Regions from separate parts of the Homo sapiens genome. Here regions 1 and 2 are each linked to region 3. Evidence: promoter capture Hi-C in 16 types of primary human blood cells and fetal thymus (Javierre and others, 2016). All regions are on one chromosome and are shown on one strand. Each heading gives the region's core, a stretch centred on a gene start or on the middle of the fragment in contact. The rest is flanking DNA. Distances are from core to core; before and after follow the strand shown. Region 1 holds the start of FBN3 (fibrillin 3). Region 2 overlaps CERS4 (ceramide synthase 4). Region 3 holds the start of ELAVL1 (ELAV like RNA binding protein 1).

What was found. Contacts are between HindIII fragments. The CHiCAGO score rates a contact against its expected background, and 5 or more counts as called.
Region 1: a contact is called between a fragment that was not itself captured here and the fragment with the promoter of ELAVL1 in region 3, in 1 of 17 cell types (megakaryocytes). The highest score is 6.6, in megakaryocytes.
Region 2: a fragment that was not itself captured here is called in contact with the fragment with the promoter of ELAVL1 in region 3 in 4 of 17 cell types (fetal thymus, activated CD4 T cells, erythroblasts and 1 more); the score reaches 6.0 in fetal thymus.

The regions. Positions count from the first base shown.
Region 1 is chr19:8,147,063-8,150,926 of GRCh38, forward strand. FBN3 (fibrillin 3) reads right to left here and starts at 2,530. Exons shown (of 64, transcript NM_032447.5): 1 at 2,387-2,530; 2 at 252-435; 3 at 42-124. The coding sequence starts at 418. RefSeq lists enhancers at 1-716, 717-1,687. The HindIII fragment of the contact is 1,247 bases long and covers 802-2,048 here.
Region 2 is chr19:8,210,150-8,214,039 of GRCh38, forward strand. It overlaps CERS4 (ceramide synthase 4), which reads left to right. Exons shown (of 12, transcript NM_024552.3): 2 at 557-713. Among named protein-coding and RNA genes, the nearest start is that of CERS4, 2.7 kb to the left of the region's middle. The HindIII fragment of the contact is 1,037 bases long and covers 1,198-2,234 here.
Region 3 is chr19:8,003,890-8,007,682 of GRCh38, forward strand. ELAVL1 (ELAV like RNA binding protein 1) reads right to left here and starts at 1,752. Exons shown (of 6, transcript NM_001419.3): 1 at 1,606-1,752. It overlaps LOC105372266 (a long non-coding RNA gene), which reads left to right and starts at 1,924. Exons shown (of 4, transcript XR_936302.2): 1 at 1,924-2,069. RefSeq lists silencers at 1,128-1,177, 1,208-1,407, 1,638-2,127. The HindIII fragment of the contact is 3,163 bases long and covers 430-3,592 here.

The sequences.
Region 1 (3,864 bases), core at 175-2,674, 140 kb after region 3:
CGGCCTGTGCCCCCCCACCTCCAGACGGCGGTAGCACTCACGTACGACACACTGGCTCCTGCCAGGGAATGTCCTCCAGCCTGGACAGCAGTAGGCATGGAACCGGGAGCCGCACACATTCGGCCTTCGGGGACAGCGAGATGGGTCTGGTGAGCCCCTGCCCGTGTGGACATCCCCCCGGGTATTCCGCTGGCCCCAGGACAGCCCAATCCACACCGAAGGGGTCTCCCAGCATCCCAGGTACCACGCACCCCTGCAAGATGCCTGGGCTGCCCCGCCTCCGCACACGTCCAGGACCTGCAGCCTCCAAGGCCCCGTCCCAGCGGCCTTGGCCACCTGCCATGCACAACAGGGCCGACCAGGCCAGCAGGAGCCGGGCCAGGGGGCCCCTTGCCAAATACAGACCCTCCAGAGTCATGGCGTGTCCCCTGGAGGCTGCGGAGAGGAAGCAGAGTCAGCCCTAGATGAGCCCCCCACCCTAGCCATGGGGGACCCAACACAACGAGGAGGGCAGGGTGGTTGCCAAATGGGGCAGCCCCGGGGCCTCTGGGAGCCCAAGGAGGCATCCAGCCCCAACCGGGAAGCGGTGAACAGTCAGAGGAGGCTTCCTGGAGGAGGTGTGATGTTAGAGAAGGGTCTTGGGGCTGAGGGTGCACAGCCAAGGCAAGACGGGAGTGGGAAGTGGAAGGGAGGGGAGAGAGGGCCAGGTGGGGCCAGGTGGGGCCAGGCGTTGCAGGAGTGGGCATAGCAGTGTCATGCAGCTTTTGCTCATTCGTCAAGGACAATGAAGAGCCCTTGAAAAGCTTTGAGTGGGAGGAGCAAGGTCAGAAATGCATGTTAGGTGGTGTGGGGAAGGGCAGCAGGGTCCCGGGGGGGAAACAGGGTGTCAGAAGGCTGGGGGCTGTCCAGATGGGAGAGAGAGGAGAGGAATGGGAGGCTCATGTCGTGGGAGGTGGAGGGCATTGAGGAGATTCCCAAAGTTCTAGCTGGGACGGTGGAGCCCAGAGAGCGTCCAGGGTAGGAGGAAGATGGTAAGTCGTGGAAGGCAACAACCCCACTGTCCCTCTGTGACACAGATACCCCCACTCCTGCAATGCCTGGCCCCACCTGGCCCTGTGTCCCCTCGCCTCCACATCCCACGCCGGTCTTGCCTGGGCTGTGCACCCTTAGCCGCAAGACCCTTTTCTAACATCACACCTCCTCCAGGAAGCCTCCTCTGACTGTTCACTGCTCCCAGGTCAGGGCTGGATGCCTCCCTGGGCAGGGGGCCCAGGCAGGGGCTGGAACTTCCCAATGCAGAGAGTAACCCTGTGCCCAGCAGGGAAGGGACCGCTTCTGTGCCCATTTCACAGATGCACAAACTAAGGCCATCACACCATGAGTGAGGGGCTAAGCCGGAGCTTAAGCCCACGAAGAGAAGAAGGAGGGGAAGAAGATCAGGAACGGAACTCGCTCCTGCCCCCCTTGGCTGGGTCTTTCCTGGGCCATGAAGGACGGGAGGGAGAAGACCGGGACAGGAGACGACCGTTTGGAGGGTGGAGGCAAAATACTTGAGGGAGAGAAGCCAGACCAAGTGGCCTTCCTGTTCCATTCAGGTTCCAGGGAGGAAAGGAACCGGCCCTAGGTGGAGAATGGGCGGGGAGCCCTGCTGTGTGGTCTTGGCCACGCCCCTCTCTGGGCCAACCTGGTTGTCCAAAGGCCCCGGAGAAGGGAGAGACCCCTGTCAACGTTGGAGGGTTGGCTGGCTGGAGAGGGGCGCCCTCTTTTTCTTCTCAGTTGTCCGGGTCAGTCCGCACTCTGAGGCTCCGTGGACTCCAAGCAGCCTCGGGGCTTGCAAGCCCTCCTCCCCCACTCCCTCCGCCCCAGCCCCCTGCCTCGGGTCGGGTGGGGGAATTAGGTGGGGGGAGTCTCTGGCCTGATTTGCCTCGGTCCCCCCTACACACCGCTGCTTCTGCGAGCCACACCCTGGAGTTTGTGGAATGAATGAGCAGAGAAGGCGCGCCCGGCACGGGGTGTGGAGGCTGAGGGCCAAACAGCGAGGGATACCAAGCTTCGCCGACGGGGAGGGGGCGCCCCCGGAGCCCGCGGGGCGCGATCTCCACCCGGCAGGGCCCCCGGCCGCGACCACGCTTGGCTCCGCCCTCACCTGTGGGGTCAGGGGCCCCGCGCCCCGGCCGAGCCCCTCCCGCCGGGTCCCCGCGCCCCCACTCCCCACTGCGGCGGGCGCCACTAGAAGGCGGAGAGGGGAGGGGGCTGGGCCCGGGGCTGCCCGGCTGCGAACAAAGGAATCCTCTCCCCCTCCCCCTGCCGGCCCCCCCGCCCCCGCCTTCTCCACCCTTCAGCGCCCGCGATCTCGCCCCGCCGCTGGCCCCGCGCCTTCACCTACCTGCGAGGCGGCGCGCGTGGAGGCGGGCACGGCAGGCGGACGCGCGGGACTCAGCGCTGCAGGGCGGGCTCCTGCGGCGCCGGGGACCCGGGGCGGGAACGCAAAGCCGAGAGGCCGACCCCGCCGCGTTCCCAGCCCAGAGCTGCCACTCGGGGGGGAGTTGGGGGCGGGAGGAGTTGGAGGAGGGCGCGTTTGCACCTCTTAGCTCCCGGGGCGGGGACGGGGGGCTCCGATCCGGGGCGGGGAGAGAGGCTGCGGCTCGGGGGAGGGTCCGGGGCTCCGAGTGAAAAACTCCGATGGACTGGAGGGATGTGAGGGCGGGCTGGGGGCGCCTAGTAGGGGCTGCCGGGGCCGCGTTTTCGGATCGAGACTAAGGTGGAGGTGGGGCTCTGACTTTTGGAGGGCCTGGACGACAGCCTGGGCAGAGAAGTCCCGGGACTCACCTGGGCGGCCCTCTCAGGGCCTCCCAAGCCGCCACCCCCTCCCTCGAGCAAGGAGAATTGCGAGAGTGACGTTGGAAACTCACCTGGCTCTTGGAGCCTGGATTCTTAACTAGGCTGAGATCAGGGGCCCCTAAATATGTTGACAAAACATTGGGCAAAGCTGTATTTCCCAGGGAGAAGGGCCCAGGTTTTTCATCTGGTTCTCAAAATGAAGAGGTTAACAATTCAAACGGTGTAAACTTTCAAATCTCTTTGAACCTGTTTGTCCACCTACCAAAGGGACCAGACAAGAATTTTGGCTCCCTATCTGTTGTCAGTACTCCAAACAAAAATTTCTAGGCTTTTCCACTACCTTCATACCTTTGAGAATAGACCCTTAACATGGGGATCTGTCAGAAGCTGTGCGTTGGGCCTGAAGCTGTTACTCCATCCAGCAAACTCCTACGCATCTGTCAAAGTCCAGTTCAAAAATTCCCTCCCTATCCGCAAATTGTGAGTTTACTCTATTGAACTCCCAAAGCTGATTGTGCTGAATATCCCCCCACCACAGTACTTCCGGAATCTAATAAATAAGTAAGCCCAGTGGGCTTGAAACCAGGAGTTCGAGACTAACCTGGGTAACATAGTGAGACCCCATCTCTAAAAAAAAAAAAAAAAAAAAAATTAAAAAGAATTAGCCAGGCCTGGTGGCATGCATCTATAGTCCCAGCTACTCAGGAGGCTGAGGCAGGAGGACTGCTTCAGCCTAGGAGGTTGAGGCTGCAGTGAGTTATGATTGTGCCACTGCACTCCAGCCTGGGCAACTGAGCAAGACCCTATCTCCAAAAATTGGAGACCCTGTCTCCATTCCGGAAGTGCTATGGTGGGAGTATATTCAGCAAGTCAGCTTTGGGAGTTCAATAGGGTAAACTCACAATTTGCAGGGAGGGAGAGGATTTTGTTTATGTTTTGTTTTGTTTGTTTTTTGAGACAAAGTCTTGCCCTGTCACCCAGGCTGGAGTGCAATGGCACGATCTTGGCTCACTACAACCTCCA
Region 2 (3,890 bases), core at 466-2,965, 210 kb after region 3:
GTTCTCGGGGCGGTGGGGACCAGGGAGGCTTGGAACAGCAGGTGCATGGCGTGATCGGATTGTGTCTTAAGAACATCCCGTAGCCGCTGTGGGTAGGAGAGATGGGGATACTTGGAAGGGGGCTTCTGGCTTGACCTGGCTGGAAGGTGTGATAGGAAGTGGGTGAACTGAAAATTCGCTTTGGCAGAGTAACATCGTCTAATTCTGTCTGTTTGCAAGTGGAGCGTGGGGGACCGATGTTTCTCCTGGGTAGTTAGGAGTATATAGAAGAGGCTTTCATTGCTGGGTTGGGAGACTTGAGGAGAAGCTGCTCTGGGGGACACAGGAAGGTGGGCAGGGGGAGAGGCTGTTGTGGTTTGCAAAACCTACCAGATGGGGGAATGCTCCCATCGACTCCAGTCTGAGCTCAGGCAAGGTCTCAGGCATCTGAGCGCAGAGGCCAGGGTGACCCCACTGGGGCGACCTGGGTCTGTTATATGGGGATAGGGTTCCTGGACTGTGGAATTGTCTTTGAAGCCCTCGGCCTCCCCCAGCCTCAAATGGGTCTGCCTTCCAGGAGCAGCTGCTGTGAATAAACACAGAAGTGGAGCTGGGGGACTGATTAGAAGCCTCATTCAGTGCACCTGGGCCCCAGCAGGCCCAGCCAGGCGTGGAGGAAGAGGCATTGAGGACTTTCCTTACCTGTTTTTCCAGCTCACCCACTGCCAGCAGAGGTACTTTGAGCCTGGGGTGTGGGGGGTGGGGGGCGGCCTTGGTCGTTGAACTGGCTGTAGGGCCCCCAGGGAAAGGTTTCTGAGCTTCAGTTTACCCATCTGTAAAATGGGTCAGTAGTATCTGAGCCTGGGAGTGTTCATGGATCGATGAAAGCCGAGGCTAGGCAGATCTCGGTGGCAGCCACACCCCTAAGGAACCGGAGAGGGTTCTAACGCCCGGTGGGAGTTCAGGGGGATGTATGGGCTTCCATTTCTCCTCTGAGAAATTCACAACAGTGTCCACCTCCTGACCCAGGGCTGTCTGCAGGTTGAATAAAGCGGTTGACCCAGTGCGTGGCACAGAATGTCTTGGCTCAGGAGCCACTGGGATGCCTGTAGTTGGCAGCAGAAGTGGGCCCAGGTTCCCTCCTCCCACCCGTGGGATGGCACAGAAAGGCAGGTGCCTTGGGAGCTCGCTGCCCTGTCCCCTTCTCTGAGCACCACAAGCTTCTCCCTTTCCGACTGGCTGGGCTTGAGCCTGACCACCCCCCAGCCCTGTCCTGCCACTTTGAGTTGAGGGCCTCCGGGCTACTGACTTCACCACTTCCTGCTTCAGTTTCTCCACCTGTAAAATGGGATAATAGCAGTCATGACCTATAGGTAAAGAGCTGAACACAGTGCCTGGCTGGTTGTGAATACGTGCTAAACAGGCTATTAAAATATCACGAGAATATCACAGAGCTGGAGGCTATTAAAATATCACGGAGGGGCTGGGCGTGGTGGCTCACGCCTGTAATCCCAGCACTTTGGGAAGCTGAGGCAGGCAGATCACCTAAGGTCAGGAGTTCGAGAGCAGCCTGGCCAACATGGTGAAACCCCATCTCTACTAGAAATACAAAAATTAGCCGGGCGTGGTGGCATGTACCTGTAATCTCAGCTGCATGGGAGACTGAGGCAGGAGAATCTCTTGAACCTGGGAGGCAGAATTTGCAGTGAGCCGAGATCGCGCCACTGCACTCCAGCCTGGGCAACAAAGTGAGACTATCTCCAAAAAAAAAAAAAAAAAAAAAAATTCAGAGTCATGCCTGGGGTCAGGGGGAGTCCAGAGGAGTCACCTGACTCAGCCTAAGGAGGAGTCAGGGAAGGCCTCCTGGAGGAGGTGACAGTTGGCTGGGTCGCTAAGGGTAAGGAGGAGTTAACCAGGCCAAGAGACCAGTGGGCAAATTGCAGAGGAGAGAAACTGCCAGGGTGCTTGGATGAAACAACCACAAAGCCAGGGTTGTAAGATCCAGAAGAGGGGAGAGGAAGAAGGGCAGAGCCAGCCTGCCAGCCTTGAACAAGCATTTGGCATTATTTAGAGCTCAGGGAACAGACTGCAGGGGTCGAAGGCAGGAGCCTGGAGACCAGGATGGAAGGGACTGCACCAGGCCAGGGGAGTAATGGTGGGGCTGGACCAGGTGAAGGCGTGGACGGGTGAGACTTGGGTGGATCTTGGAGAGATATGGAGAGGCCGGGGGAGGGAGCAGCTGCTCATGGGGGAGAAGCTTTAGGTGTAAGTCAGCAATCTGTTCTCAGCATCTGGAAATTGCCATGCTGCTAGACACCCAGGTGGTACGGCGTAGGATGGGCTTTAAAGCAAGCTGGGAGCTTGGGAGACAGCAGAAAGAGGGCAGAAGGAAAACCAGGAGTGGGTGGCAAGCTGGGAGCCAAGGGAGCTGGGGCTGTCATAGGAGGAAAGGGTCTTGAAACCCCTGTTTGATAATTCAGTAGCAGGCATCTTACTGTTTTTTTAATTATTATTTTTTTTATTTTTTGGAATGGAGTTTCGTTCTTGTCGCCCAGGCTGGAGTGCAATGGTGCGATCTCGGCCCACTGCAACCTCCACCTCCCGGGTTCAAGCAATTCTCCTGCCTCAGCCTCCTGAGTAGCTGGGATTACAGGTGCGAACCACCACACCTGGCTAATTTTTATATTATTAGTAGAGATGAAGGGGGGTGGGTTTCACCATGTTGGCCAGGCTGGTCTCGAACTCCTGACCTCAGGTGATGCACCTGCCTCGGCCTCCCAAAGTGCTGGGATTACAGGTGTGAGCCACTGCGCCCAGCCCGTCTCACTTTCTTTTGTGGCTGCTCTTTACCAACCCTGTTCTGTTCCCCATGCCTTTCAGTACAAGCTCTTTTCTTTGCTTTTCTTTCTTGTTTTTGTTTTGTTTTTTCAAGACAAGTTCTGGCTCTGTTGCCCAGGCTGGGGTGCAGTGGTGCGATCTTCGCCCACTGCAACCTCCACCTCCCAAGTTTAAGCAATCAGCCTGGGACTACAGGCATAAGCCACCACACCTGGCTAATTTTTGCATTTTTTTGTAGTGATTTTGTAGAGTTTTGCCAGTTGCCCAGGCTGGTCTGAAACTATTGAGCTCAAACGCCTCAGCCTCCTAAAGTACTGGGATTACAGGCATGAGCCACTGCACTCGGCCTCTTTCTTTCTTTCAAAGGCAGAATCTTGCTCTGTCGCTCAGGTTGGAGTGCAGTGGCATGATCATAACTCACTGCAGCCTCGACCTCCTGAGCTCAACCTCAGCCTCCTGAGAGCTGGGACCACAGGCATGCACCACCAGGCCTAGCTAATCCTTAAAAAAAAATTTTATACACATGGACAGGGGTCTTACTATGTTGCCCGGGCTGGTCTTGAACTCCTGGCCTCAAGCGAGCCTCCAGCCTCAACCTCCCAAAGCACTAGGATTATAGGCATGAGCCACTGTGCCTGGCCAAGCGCAGGCTTTTCTTTGCCATCCTTGAATAGGCCCCTCAGACCCATCATGGCTCTGACCAGAGTAGCATAGAGAGGCCCGGCGCGGTGGCTCACGCCTGTAATCCCAGCACTTTGAGAGGCCGAGGCGGGCAGATCACCTGAGGTCAGGAGTTCGAGACCAGCCTGGCCAATATAGTGAAACCCCGTCTCTACTAAAAATATAAAAATTAACCCTGTGTGGTGGCATGCTCCTGTAATCCCAGCTACTTGGGAGGTTGAGACAGGAGAATTGCTTGAACCCAGGAGGCAGAGGTTGCAGTGAGCCAAGATCGCACTACTGCACTACTGCACTCCAGCCTGGGTGACAGAGCAAGACACTGTCTCAAAAACAAACAAACAAAAAACAGAGTAGCATAGAAGAGACCTTCCCCTCCCTGAGTCTGGACTTTA
Region 3 (3,793 bases), core at 502-3,001:
CACAGAAAATATTCGATGACAACTGGAGTGCCCTGGAGCCTTGTGATTATAGGAGCAGTACAATCGAGTGGTTAAGAGTAAGGGTTTTGAATCAGAGGGCCCGAGTTCAAACCCTGGCGCAGCCACTTTAGTGCATGAGACTGGTCACATCAAGTGACCCATCTAAGCCTCAGTTTCTTCATCTCTAAAATGGAAATTAATGGAAATTATAACATCACCTGCCTCAAGGACTGCAGACAAACGTCCACAAAGTGTCAAGCACATAGTAAATCCTCAATAAATACTGGTGGCTATGTACAACATCATTTATTCAGTGCCTACCAGGCACAGACCACGCACAACGCAACGGGATTTCCACCCTCTTCAATTTGCACCACACTTTTGTCCTTCCCATTTTATAGATAAGAAAACTAAGGCTCAACAGAGTCAAGCTTGTTCGAGGTCTTGGGAGCATCTCCCAGGGCATTAGAACTTTTGGAGGAAGAGCATTTAGTTCAGTAATGGTTCTCACCTGTGCGTGTGAGAGTGGAAGAGACCCCTCCCCCGCAACCCGAGCCATCTGGCAATGTTTGGAGATACTTTTGATCCTCACGACTTGGAGCATGGGGATACTGCTGGCATCTAGTGGGTAGAGGCCAGGAATACGGCTCAACTTCCTACATTGCACAGGGAAGCCCCCACTACCACCACAACCAAAAACTATCTGACCCCAAACATCAGTAGGGCCAACGTCGAGAAACCCTGCTCTAGACAGATCATTCTCCTCATCTTCCCATTTCTGGCCATCCGGATCTTAGATGAACACTTTCTAGCAAGGGGGCTCAGTCCCACCACGGGAAGCCCATGCAGAAGTTGTGCAGAAGTTCTTCTCCACCTGCCCTGCACACAGTAGGGACCAAAACCCATTTTAACAAGCCCCGCAGCCCAGAGCACCGGAAAAGGAAGGAAGGGCATCCATCCCCCATTGTTCAACTGTGTGCAGCTTGTGTTTCCAACAGGCACACACACATATTTTACAAATCCTAACGTCCCACGCCCCACAAACAGCTTTGTTAGAGATGGCGCTCAAAAAAAGATGCAGTTTAGATTTTTTTTTTCCCCCAGGACTCCCGTGTATCTACTGAAGGGTTTGCACACTTCTCAAAGGACCTCGCACCGGCCGCGGTGCTCTGACAACGACCACAAAAGAATCTGTGGGATTTCCCGGGGGAGCAAGCCCGTGGGCCGTGACCTCTGCGCGCTCAAAGCGTTCCCGGCGCTCCCCCGTAGCTGGCCCCACTCTCCCGCCCCCGGAGCCCGGGCTTCCAAGGCGACCGGGGCCCCCGGCCGTGCAGCCCGGCCCCCCGGCGCATGCCCACGCCGTATCCCCCTCGCCCGTCCCTCGAGGCGCCAGAGGAATCCGGCCCCGGGGCCTGTAGCCGGCGCCCACACCGGCCCGCCCCGACCCGCCCGCCGCGGCCCCAGCGCGCGTCCCCTCCCCCGGTCCGGCGCGGCCTGGGCCTCGGCCGGTGCAGGCCCGCGGGCGCCCCGCGGCCAGGCCAGGCGAGCTCAGGCCTGCCGCGGCCTACCCCGTCGGGCGCCGCCGAAGGCCCCCCACCGCCTCACCTGGATGCGGGCGGGCGGGCCCGGGGCTGCTCCGGGGCGGGCGGGAGGCGGCGGCGGCGCGGCGCTAACGGCTCCGCTCGGCCTCGGTAGCGGTGGCGGCGGTGGCGGCGACGGCGACGGCGGCAGCGGCTCCTCCTCAGCGCGCACGACCCGCTCCGGCCCGCGGCCCGGACACGCCCCCCCCGCGCGCGAGCCCATTGGCCGACGTCCGCCACGGCGCGCTGCTCATTGGCCGGCGTAGCTGTCGCGGCGCTCCGGGGCGCGCGGGAGAGGCGGGACTTCCGGTCGGCGCCGCCTGCGAAGTGCTCCGCGGCCGGCGGAGACGCGGGCAGCCAGCGATGGCCGCGGAGGGGGCGAACTGGGTTCCGGCCCTCGGAGGCTGACGGAAGGCGGTGGCTGAGGAGCGGCGCCTCTGGTTGAGCGCTCGCCGTGTGTCCCGCACCTGTCTGTCCTGCCGCCGCCCGGTAAGGTAGGAAAGGTCAGCGCGCCGGGGTTACGGGTACAGAACCTGGGTTCGAATCCCGGCCCCGACGTTTCCGCACTACGTGCCGTTGGGCAGGAGCTGACGTCACCTTGCCGGGCCTCAGTTTCCTTCTCTGGTGCGCTGAGGAGGCGGGGCATGGAACGTGGTCAGCGCTTCATCGGTGCTGGCTCTTTGAGCAAGCCAGTTCCCGAAGGCTCAGCATCTCATTCATTCATTAAAATGTCATTGAGCGCCTACTGTGTGTCAATCACTGTATGGGCAGTGAGCAGAAAAAAAATACCTGGTCTTATTGGGCTAACATTCTAAACCAGCGCTGGCCTAGAATGCCCTAGTAGAAATACATGCAAGCTACATGTTTAATTTTTTTTTATGTAAAGATGGGCTCTGGTTCTGTTGCCCAGGCTGGTCTCGAACTCCTGGACTCAAGCGATTCTCCTGCCTCCGCCTCCCAAAGAGCTGGGATTACAGGCATGCCTGCACTCTGCCTAATTTTTTCTTTTTTTTTTTTATGATCTGAAAATAATAGTCTTTTTATTTTTATTTATTTATTTATTTATTTGAGACGGAGACTCGCTCTGTCGCCAGGCTGGAGTGCAGTGGCGTGATCTCCGCTCACTGCAACCTCCGCTTCCCAGGTTCAAGCGATTCTCCTGCCTCAGCCTCCTAAGTAGTTGGGCCTACAGGCGCTGCGCCACCACAACCAGCTAATTTTTGTATTTTTAGTAGAGACGGGGTTTCACCGTGTTGGCCATGATGATCTGTATCTCTTGACCTCGTGATCTGCCCGCCTCAGCCTCCCAAAGTGCTGGGATTACAGGCTTGAGCCACTGCGCCTGGCCTACAATTTTGTTTTTCTTTTTTTTTTTTTTTTTTTGAGACAGGATCTCACTCTGTCACCCAATTTGGAGTGCGGTGGTATGATCACAGCTAACTGCAGCCTCAACTTCCCCAGCTCAGGCAATCAATCCTCCGGCTTCAGATTCCTGAGTAGCTTAGACTACAGGATGTGCCACTATGCCTGGCTAATGTTTTATTTTTTTGTAGCGATGAGGTCTTGCTGTATTGCCTAGGCTGGTCTCAAACTTCTAGACTTAAGTGATCCTCCTGCTTTGGCCTCCCAAAGTGTTGGGATTACAGGCGGGAGCCACGGTGCCCAGCCTGTTTCTTTTTTTAATCATATTTTCTTAGAAGTTTTTTTTTTTTTTTTTTTTTTTTTTGGAGACAGGGTCTCACTCTGCTGTGCAGGCTGGAATGCAGTGGTGTGATCTCAGCTCACTGCAACCTCTGCCTCCCTATTCAAGTGATTCTCGTGCCTCAGCCTCCCAAGTAGCTGGGATCACAGGCGTGCAACATCACACCCAGCTAATTCTTGTGGTTTTAGTAGAGATGGGGTTTTGCCATGTTGGCCAGGCTGGTCTCAAACTCCTGGCCTCAAGTGATCCACCCACCTCGGCCTCCCAAAGTGCTGGGATTACAGGCATGAGCCACCACCCGGCCTAGGAAAGCTTTTTAGAGATTGGGTCTCACTGTGTTGCCCAGGCTGGAGTGCAGTGGCTGTTCACAGGTGCAATCATCCCACAGGTTTAACTCCTGACCTCAAGCAGTCCTTCTGCCTCAGGCTCCCAAGTAGCTGGGATTATAGGCACGTGCCACCACACCTAGCTCAATTAAATGTTAAATTTAACATTTAATTGTTAAATTTTA